Linked DNA regions of Homo sapiens: region 2 is linked to region 1. The links are contacts of gene promoters, found by promoter capture Hi-C in human tissues and cell types (Jung and others, 2019). All regions are on one chromosome and are shown on one strand. The core of a region is centred on a gene start or on the middle of the fragment in contact, and the rest is flanking DNA. Distances in the headings are between cores, read along the strand shown. Region 1 holds the start of STC1 (stanniocalcin 1). Region 2 overlaps LOC107986931 (a long non-coding RNA gene).

The links. The method cuts DNA at HindIII sites, captures the fragments that hold promoters and counts their contacts. A contact is called where the count stands out against the background at its distance.
Region 2: a contact is called between a fragment that was not itself captured here and the fragment with the promoter of STC1 in region 1, in 3 of the 25 tissues and cell types used here (heart right ventricle, mesendoderm cells and thymus).

What each region holds. Positions count from the first base shown.
Region 1 is chr8:23,852,220-23,857,687 of GRCh38, reverse strand. It overlaps STC1 (stanniocalcin 1), which reads left to right and starts at 2,882. Exons shown (of 4, transcript NM_003155.3): 1 at 2,882-3,282; 2 at 5,304-5,446. The coding sequence starts at 3,165. The HindIII fragment of the contact is 6,962 bases long and covers 1-4,874 here.
Region 2 is chr8:24,135,170-24,140,681 of GRCh38, reverse strand. All of the region lies in intron 2 of LOC107986931 (a long non-coding RNA gene), which reads right to left. Among named protein-coding and RNA genes, the nearest start is that of ADAM28, 160 kb to the left of the region's middle. The HindIII fragment of the contact is 3,882 bases long and covers 1-3,636 here.

The DNA of each region.
Region 1 (5,468 bases), core at 1,633-4,132:
TGATGAAATAATCTTGCCTAAACACTTATTTCCACCCATCATTTAACAATTCCTACTCAAGAGCCCGAATAACTTCCTGTTCCTTACAGGATAAAACTCAGACTGTGAAGAGCGCTAAGCAAACTCCTCCATATTCTCTCAGACCCCCAAGAGAAGTTACAAAGAAACCAGACATCACCACCAGGGCCCCCAAGACCCTTTTATCTTGCTATATCACAGTTCCAGACAGTTGCACAATGATTGAGGGCACTTGGATATCCACATACCATGACATTCTAGGCAGAAATTTTACACTGGGCATTTCATGTAGACTTCAGCTCCTTCCCCTAAGGTTCTCAAATGCATTGGCATGCATACTAGTTACATTCAAATCAATGGGCTGACCACTATTGTATTTCTTCAAAGGACAGTTTACCTGTTATTGGGAAACACTTGGCACACCTAGCAATGAACTTCCAGGCACAAGATAGTAAGTGAGCAAAATAAGAAGGAATAATAAATCAACATCAGAAAAAAAAAACACAAACACATCTTGATGCTTGTAGGACATCGTGTTCTGGTGAGAGCAACGGAGAGTTGGAAAAACAAAGTAGATGGCTGGTGGTAAATCATCACCCTACCAAGCCAAGCAGACCAACTCAGGGAAAGCCCAAGAGAAACAAATGGCACTGCCTTAGATGATGAATAATGGCCAAGGAGGTAGAGAATGCTAAAGAACAGAAGTCAAGACCCTTGGGAGGAATACGCATCTGTCCTCTTACTCCCTTTCTGGAAGAGAGCACTGAGAAATTCTATTGCCTTGCCTGGCATCTACTACTTCTAACTAAAGCAATACAAATAACCTTGAAGCTTTCCACAATACAAGCTTTGTTTTTTAAAAATGAAATAGCATAGCTTTTCCTAAATTCTTAAAAAGCAACAACAGCAGTTTACATCTTTCCCCACTGATCTTTCCCTCAAGAGCTTTCCCCCCATCTCCAGCCAGTGCTGCCTGAGCCTGTGTCTTACTATATGAGGTCCTGACATCCCGAACCTTTAGGAAGTATGACTGTGGCTGGTCATCTTCCCAACTCACCTGTAAGTACCTTCAGGACAAGAATAATGAACTTACCTTCTTCTCTATGTCTTCTCATTTATCCTCCCACATTGTCCCCTAGCACTCAGCCCAGAAGGTTCTAAAGAAATACCAATACTGCCTGTTAATATAAATTAAAATGTATTCTTGTTATATAATGTAAATCTGAAAATTCCCTTCCTTTCTTTTAGATATTTCCTGTATCCTTTATTCCTTCTATTCCTTTTTCTAGCAAACTTTCATACTTACCAAACAACCCTATTTTGTGAGGGATAGGCTATCATCACCCAGAACCGTCCGCCGCCCCCCCCCCCCCGCCCCCCACCACCCTATCACCCCACAACATACACAGAGCTGACACTTGGTTTAGTTTGTGGTTAACAGGGGTGGCACTCTTTCTTCAACTTTTGTTTGAAGGTTTTAGGATGCAAAGTAAAGCCACTGGCCCCATTTCTCTGCAAGATTATCCTGCCCAAATCTGTATGAATCACCAGTGGCCATTTCTCATCTACTTCCCCAAAATTATTAAAGGTTTTATTGTATAATACCTTCACCACCTTCCTACCCTAAGAAGTCCTCTTCTGGCTCATTAACCTCCTTCACATGTTGGGGACAAACCTCAGCATTGCCTACAACTCACTTATAAGAAAATATAAGTTTCTATACCAGGCATGATTTGTGATTGCAGTGCAATTTTCCTATTAAGTCTAGAGCTTATCATTCTTCTCTCCTACACATTCTGGTCTTTCTCTACCCCTTCTTTCCATTCTGCCCCCTTTTTTCCTACCCCTCTCCCCAAGAAATGAACTGGTTTCCATTCAGCAGGTTTAGTCTTGCTTTGGCCAGCTTATTGTTTCAAAGTGGTTATAAAGTTGCTGGGCTTGAACACAGATTATTAATTTTCAGGCATTCATGATGTCTCCCTGTTGAGTGTGGTATGTGCAGGTGTGCACATGTGTACCTGGGGTAACTAACACTCCTGGACTATGCAATTTTGCTGGTGACTGAAAAGATGAAGTCAAAGTTGATTTGATTATTGAAGAATCACATTATTTTAGAGGTATACAGAATGTCAGAGTCCAACTTTGGCGTTTTACAGATGGGAAAACGAGGTGGGGCAAGGTAAAAAGACTTAGCCAGAGTCATAGGTTGATCAGTAGGGGGACTAAGGCTTCAGCTCTGAGCTGTCATATCTCAGTCCCCCAAGGCTTTTCCACTCACATAAATTCCCCCTCAAGGGCTCAAATGTGTGAGTGAGAACCCAGGATGTCCACATACAAACAAAAATGCATCATAGACATGTGAACATGTACACACAGAGAAGATAGGGAGTTATTGCATTTGTAGCCTACAAAACAGAACCGAGAATGTGCTGTTAAAATTAGAGTAAAACTGCTGTAAGCAGGTTAAGTTCTCATCTAAAGAGATCACATTTCCCCACCATACCCCTGCTATCCATTTCCCCCAAGTGGCTCATTAGAAAAAAAGATGGCTAGATTTCAAAAAGCAACTTGGAGAGATTTCTATAGGATTTTTCTTTAGTTCAATCAATACAGAGTTATCTCTTACTTCCACGAAAATAGCTTTTTCACACATCTCTGCACACACAGTCACACACACATATAAAACATTGGCAGCAGGTACTTTTAATTTGCTGGAAAATATTTCTAAGAAGTCAAAAAGCTCCAGCTGAATTGCATGCCCTCTTATTGGCTCACCAGACCAGTTGAGGGACCTGATTGGTCCTTGATCCTGAGGACCGATAAGAACGGCTATAAAATCCCTGGGTGCAGCTCTTGGGCCCCCAGTTTGCAAAAGCCAGAGGTGCAAGAAGCAGCGACTGCAGCAGCAGCAGCAGCAGCGGCGGTGGCAGCAGCAGCAGCAGCGGCGGCAGCAGCAGCAGCAGCGGAGGCACCGGTGGCAGCAGCAGCATCACCAGCAACAACAACAAAAAAAAATCCTCATCAAATCCTCACCTAAGCTTTCAGTGTATCCAGATCCACATCTTCACTCAAGCCAGGAGAGGGAAAGAGGAAAGGGGGGCAGGAAAAAAAAAAAACCCAACAACTTAGCGGAAACTTCTCAGAGAATGCTCCAAAACTCAGCAGTGCTTCTGGTGCTGGTGATCAGTGCTTCTGCAACCCATGAGGCGGAGCAGAATGACTCTGTGAGCCCCAGGAAATCCCGAGTGGCGGCTCAAAACTCAGGTAAGCAGCAAACCCAAGAGCGGTTTCTCCCCCAAAGAGCTGTCCTCATTTGCCTCTCCCTTTTGCAACTGTGTCTGTGACGGCTGATCTTGATAATAAATGTGCTTCATGCCTGATGGCAATAAACTGCCAGTGTAATCCAATAGCCTTAGGCAGTGGAGCTCCTTTGTTTAATAAATTGCATGCAACTAAACGAAGAAGCTGGACGCTCTGCTGAGGGTATTTCATTGCATAAGCCTAGCCTGATTGCCTGAAATCTGGCACGTACCCTCTTGGAGGGGGAGGGGTGAGAGGGGAGGAAAGGCTTGAATGTTGGCATGCTTCAAAGCGCTCTCTATACTTTCCAGAAGCTGATCTAAGGTAAGACCTGGCTTGTTTGATGCTGTCCCTCTTCCTTTCCTCTTAAGACTCTACCTCTTCACTTCTTGACTTCTCTACCTAAGAGAATACACAGAAAAGCTCCCTCTTCAGACTGATTTTCAGAACCATAGCCCTCAAGTCTGACAAATCCAGGGCGGATTCAGAGAAAACCCTATACATCCCACCCCCAACCCTGCTGCCTGTCTCCCTCCTGGCTCTGTAGGGCTCCATTCAGTCGTCCCTGCAGCCCGTAGCCAGAGAGCCCCTAGAAAAAAAAAATTGTGAAACGTAGCAGCTGTTTCTCCAAGGGTAAGGTCTCACTTTCGTCTTGACTCTTGGAGCAGTTAATTGTGCATTATCTTGGCTTCTGAAGGAAAAGAATCATTAGGAAGCCTGCATTGACACCTCTGCCTCTTGACTTCTCTGGCTCCACTTGTTCCCCTTCCAATACTGCCCTCTGTCCTCCAACTGTCAGCAAAGACCGGATCACAGGTGTCAAAATGCTGCAGATGATGATCCCCTTGGAAGAGCACAGGTCCCTGCCGAGAGGAGGGCTTTTGCTTCACTTCCTTTTGTACTTAGTTGCTATAGAGATGCAGTGATTCACAATTCGAGCTTGCCTAAAACAATAGCAGCCCTAATGCATATTAAAACTGCTTAAAGCAAAGTTATAATTTAAACCCGTGGAAATATATAATTAGGGAAATGACTTGTAACATCCTAGAGGCTGCGGGTGGTGGGAGGGGGTGGGGAAGACTAACTGAACCATGCTTTTGATCTCAGAGGAGAATCCTATGGCATGAAGGCTGCAGATCATTCCTTGCCTAGCTGCCTGCCAGAACACCCCCCTTCTGTGGGAGAAAAATTACTTTTATGGGAGATCTTATCCAGAATGTAGAAAGCCTCATGCAAGTTTTTTGCGGTTTTCTTCCAGTCTTGCATAGGGAGGCCTTGGCCTGGTTATTCCACACCTGTGTTTCTTCTTTCTTTCTTTCTTTCTTTCTTTCTTTTTTAAAAGGCTTTTAATATGAAAGAGATTATGCATACCTCTAAGCACTGTCCTAGTGGAGGGTTGGGGTGAAACATGAACGGATCAGATTTCTTTTTGCCAATATGACGGTAAGTTAAAAGCCTGAAATCAGAAGGGTCTCCAAGTGGACTCCTGGCACAGTCTTCTCTGCCATTTAGACTAAAATCCCATGCTTTTTACTCGGGAGTGCATTTTTCCAAAGCTAGATGGATTCCCTGGCCCTTTTACCTCTTAAACCTGACCACTAGCCACTGTCTCCTTCCTTCCCATGCTTTCAAGTGCTAAGCAATGACCTTTGATTCTATGGAATGGCTTAAAGGCACTGTGCATTTCCAGACTTGAGCCTCACTTCTCCAGACACCAAAATTGTAGGTAATGGTGAAACAGGGAGCGTGTGTCTGAAACAGAGAACTCCCTCCCTGTCCATCATGTACTCCAGCAATCATAAACAAAAGGAGCCTGTCTATCCTCTCTTTCTCAATCAAATGGGTCTATCAATTGCCCCTCATGACAGATTCCTAGGATAAGTTCTTCTGACCTCATGTCCTTGAAATTCACCTCTGCACCCACTTGATCCCACCCAGCCATTCCTCACTGTTTGACCCAGAATGGATGGATTTGTCTCTTTCAGCTGAAGTGGTTCGTTGCCTCAACAGTGCTCTACAGGTCGGCTGCGGGGCTTTTGCATGCCTGGAAAACTCCACCTGTGACACAGATGGGATGTATGACATCTGTAAATCCTTCTTGTACAGCGCTGCTAAATTTGACACTCAGGTAATAAAACCTTGACCCCTGC
Region 2 (5,512 bases), core at 446-2,945, 280 kb before region 1:
CTAGGATTTAAATGGCAATGGTATACTTCCCCTCTTTATATCATTTTGGGGCAAAAATTATCTTTGTCCAAATATTCAGCTAGCAATGTCAAAGGATAAAAGTAAAGAATGCCTAATATCCAAAAATAAAAATATAGTGAATACTGTAGGTTAAGTGGAGGAAAGCTATTAGAAAGAAACTCAGAGGGTTGCAGCCAGGGAGTGACAGTAAGAAGGCAAGTATACCAGCCTCTGTCATTTTGACAGCAATTGACTAATTTGCTCCAGGTTTTCTTGAGGTTTCTTTCAGTGTATTTATAACCATAAAAGCATTTCTTTTGGTCCCAAGATAAAAAAGCTTTTTACGCAATAGTGCATATTTCTAATGTTTCCATTGTCAAAACTGCCATCAAAGAGGGTTAGGGGAAGGAATGTCACCAACGCTATGAATCGGATTGGGCATTTGCTTTACCAAAGCGCTGGTTCAGAACTTAACCTAATTCCTATTGCACAGTTGATAGTCGACAGAGGGAAAAATGCTTTTTGAATGATTTCATCTTTTCTGATACCATGAAGAAGGAAAATATTTTAGACACCAATGTCCTAGGACATTTTATTCTCTAACCTGGTACCCAGAACTCATGCATGCATACTAGATTAGACACAAGGGAAGAGGCAGATGTCCAAAGGCTTAAGCGAATTCAGATGTTTTTTCTGTTTTTTATTAATACTGTACTCCAGCTGTTACATCTTTATACTGGTAAAGTCTCAATCAACACACAGGGTGAAATAGCAGAAGGTAGAGGTGTTCTGGAACATCAAAGGGCCAAAATGATATTTTGCACAAAATTAAAGATAACACCTAAAAACTGGGACTGGAAATTTCCACAGGTTGGCAGTTTTCAGAAGGAAAGAGTTACTGAACCTTATCCTCCTACTGGAAAATTAGATAGCAGTCTCATGACTCTACTGACCATTGGGCAATCCCCCATTGTCCTTAAATAAGATTGTGCCCAAGAAAATAAATACCAAAAGAGAGATAAAGTGAAAACATACATTTTTTTAAGCCTCTCTCACACACAAATAAAGTAGACCACAAGAATGAACAAAGTTTAACAACAGCAAAACAAATTAAAAGAAGTACCAGCCTTTGCTTTCCTGGAAGCTACATGATGCCCAATGATGACAAGCGAGATGTTCATTTTTAGTCTAAGAAATGTTTTCCTAGGACAGCTGGAGGGCATGGCTCAGTGGTCTGAACATCTTGTTTGATGTACCTAGACTCCTTGGAGCCATGTGCTGGAGTACTGGTGTGATTTGCTTAACTCTTCAGTAGAACTAAACAGAATTCCCAATTCTTTAGTGTGTGGTTCTCGGGAAGTTTGGGGAGAGATGCACTCGCCCTGGTTCTGCTTGGAGATAAAAGAATGCAAAGGATTAAACTTGACACTTTAGCCCCAAGTTACTTTCTTTTGATTGCTTACTGTCACTGGAATACCATATTTGTTGTTTATGTAGGGTCTTTCATTTAAGGATTTCAAAGTAGTCGCTGACACGGTCTGATGGCAGAAATGAACAATGTTCATTTAAGAATGAAAAAAATGAGACACCAGAATGCCACAGTAAGTTAAAGGGAAAGAGAATAATGAAATTCAGTTCACACATTGGAATGTGCACTCATTTTTTAGGACAGAGTTTTCTGGGGGAGGATACAGGTCAGATCAATGTGCATCTTGCATCATAAATAAAGAATTCAGTAAAGTGCTATCTCCAGTAAGGATAGTGATCAATCTGAAAGAAAATAAATTTAATAGCATTTTTGAGCCTTAGTTGTTTAATTTTCAAAATGATAGAAATAATACCCACCTATCCAGGTCCATGTAAGAATAAAATGACATCTGAGAATGGGCTTCACACATAATATGTGATCCAAAAATGTTACTCTCTTTTTTATTTTGACCCACAAGTATAGCATTATATAGTAAGCCTTTAAGACCTTCTTATCCCCACAACAAGAGGTGTGGAAGAGAGTATTTTTAGAGTCCTGATGGCTGAATCAAGTAATCTGGAAGTGACAAGCAGAGCTTCCTTCGCTTGTGCTGTCCTCTTTAACACAGCACAGCCTCCATTCTCTTATTCATTCCTTTACATATTCAATACACATTGAAGTGCTTGTTACGTGGTAAGTACTGGGGATAGCAAAGGCAATAAGTCAGACCCTCACAAGTGGTTTAAGAGTCTAGTGAAGACAGACATACTTGTATACAAATAATTACAAGGCAGAAAGATGAATAACACAACAAACTAAAGACAGCCAGAATATGACACATTTTCTTTTACTTACCAGTGTGTTCTACCCATATCAGTTGTTCAGGAACATATTTTCTGCAGTCAGCTATTAATAATGATCACAATTAGCATATAATCTCCTTTATCTGCTATACAACACAATTGTTGTCATCATTCATCACAGTGTTGTTGAGAGAATTATGTGAATTATTTCCATATCAAGCACTTAACACAGTGGCTGGCACATATAAAGCATTCATCAATATTATTCCATTATTATAATTATCATGGTGATATCATAATCTGAACATCATCATTATGTCATCATTAAGAATAGAAACATGTTGTGTTCCAACAAGCTTAAAAATGAGGTAAGGTCACTCGGGATGGATATGAAGTTAAGGTCTAGTCCCATATATACAATCAAAAGAGTCCTCAGATAACCCATAGACGCTTGATTTACTCAACCCCAACCTCAGGTCCAAGAGTGAAAGAGTCTTTGTATTACAGCTATTCACAAAGGTAAATTAAGTGAACAGTCACCTTAAAGGGCATTTCAAAAGACCTCCTAACAAATTCCTCTCAATTATATGTACTGCAGTTCTCTGAAATTCCTTTAGCAGGATATTCAGCTTGATAATGATAAATACCCTTGGAGAAACCAAACATATCTCTAAAGCAGTGGTCCTCAACCAAAAGGATATTTTTCTCCCTCTCCCCCAGAGGACCAATGTCTGGAGACATTTTTCATTATTACAACAGGGTAAGAGGAAGTGGACAAAATACAGGTGGTACTAGCATCTAGTAGGTGAAAGCCAGAGATGTTGCTGAACATTCTTCTATGCACATGATGGACCTCTCAGAATTATCTGGTCTAAAATGTCAGTAGTAACAAAGTTAGAAAAACGTTGCCCTAAAAAATATGTACTTATTTAGACCTACTTAGTTAGACATTTCTATTCTTTATCCTTGTACCATAATTTCACAGCATGATGTAGTATGTGATTGAGCTATGTCTTCCTGGAACAAGAATAAATGGTGGGATATGGGTTGGAGAAGGGATGATAAGCAAAGGACAATTACTTCATAAGGAAGCACAAGAAAGGAATTCAGAAGTGAAAATATTCCTATTTCCTATTTTACCCAAAAGCAATCTCAATGCCTTTCCTTGCAACAAACATTTTTAATGGTGTAGAATGAGCACATGTAAGTGCTTCATAAATTCCCTCTAGATGATTAATTTCCACTGTAAGTCCATGTCGCATTTTGTCATGTCCCTGAGGAAGATCACACTAGGCTGTTGAAGATTCAAGGGTTTGTATAATCGAGCATCTGCTGTGTAGAAGGCACGGTTCTAGATGCTTGAGTTATCAGTGTGAACAAAGCAAAGACACCTCTCCACGTAGAGCTCACATTCAATCAAGTTTTAAGTAAAGTTCAAGGAATTCTTGAACTTGAATGCCTCTACATATGGCATTATAGTTTTCCATCCTATTTATCTCTCTTGACTCAAAAAAAGAGAAATCAGTTCTAAGAAAGTTTTTACCTCCCTTAGATATTAATCTATTTCCAAGGCAACAAAGAAAAATAGATTGCAGGAACAAGTCTATCTTTTGCAGATCATTGGTTACATAAGGTTTGTAGTTTGTAAGAAACCAATATGAGGAAGACATCCAAGCCTGGGTAAGTTACTCCGGTCCAGGTTAAAAGAAACATAAGTGGAGGATTAAAAAATCTATTCTACCTCTTGCCATGTCTTAGGAGAAAGGCTTCTACAACAGGACAACTAGTAGCTTTTGAAATAGCCTGCCATGACTGTGTTAATGGTAAAAAATCACTTAAGCATTTAGTTTTTATCTGCATTACATTTGAAAGCACAGGGCCATTTACTCTGAATTCTCTCTGATTATTATCAGTAATAGCATTTAATCAGCCCTCCTATAGTCCCAGTCTTGGAAGATCAACGACAGCTTGGACTTGCCCTGTTCTTGTCCTATAAAATCCTGGAATGTATTCAGGCAGATAAATGTTACCTGCTTCACAGTTCTGTGAGGATCAGTACCCACAGAGGCAGCAATGTCACTGGGAGGTTTTGTGGGATTCTCCTGTCCCCATATTTTTCTAATAGACTTTTACTCATTTGAATGCTATTTTGAACTACGGAATTATTTTCATGCCTCTAGACTCTGCATTACATGTAGGAAGGGACTGTGATTAAATTATTTTTCCTTAGCAGCACCTAGCCAGTATCTGGTATCCATAAATATCAGGTAAGTACAATTAACCAATGGATTTATTAGTACATGGATGGAGCAAGAAGATGGCAGCCCAAGAAATCCTGAAAACCCCAGAAAAACAGAAATCAATTATTAATAAGCTTATTGGACATTTCCTTTAGGCAGAAATCTAGGGAAAGCTCCTCACAGCTTGTACCTCACATTCCTTATCCTGGTAAACATTAGTAGAATTAATACCCTTTTCTTTCCTCTGCTTCTAAAAGCCAAGTACTTAATATATTTATGAATAGACATTTATTTGTGGAGCTTATAAGATGGATGGAATTCCATGAAGAAAAGCAAAAAGGATTTGCACTAGAGTCTGATGATAAGACCCTGAGGTCTTATTCCACTGAGGAATATGGTACTTCTCATTCTGTTTCCTGGCCCCCTACAGGGCTTCTGCAAACCAGAAACCCCAGTATCCCCTGGAGCCACCAACAACATGCATTTGAAATCCTTTGGTTCTGTGGCTTGGTCTAGGACCCAACTTAAGCAAAGAATGCCACACATTTATAGTAGCATTTATATAGGACTATTTGTATCTTACATTTCACTTCTGTAATTATTATACTCTCTAAACGAAATAGAGTGGTGAGGCTCATGTCAAAGACTGTTCATAAATCATTAAAAACAAAAGAAACATGATGCGAAGTCTTGAGCCTTCTACCTCACAATAAGCCTCAGAGTATAATTCATTACTTCTAAGCTTTGCACCCAGGAGCGCTGGATACCCTATGGCTGTACCGAAAGAGTTCCTGGAGGCCATCAATCAGGCCACACAGGTTACTAGTTTCTGTTCCACTTTTAGGTCTTCCCACCATTGCATAACACTCATCCATTGGGCATTTTTAAGTTCAAAAATCTGTGATATCTTCCAGCAAGGGATCAGAGTATATGCTATGTGGTTTAAGGTCCTGACATGAGGAATCCACAAAGCTAAGTTAAACCAAATGCCTGTGCCTTTC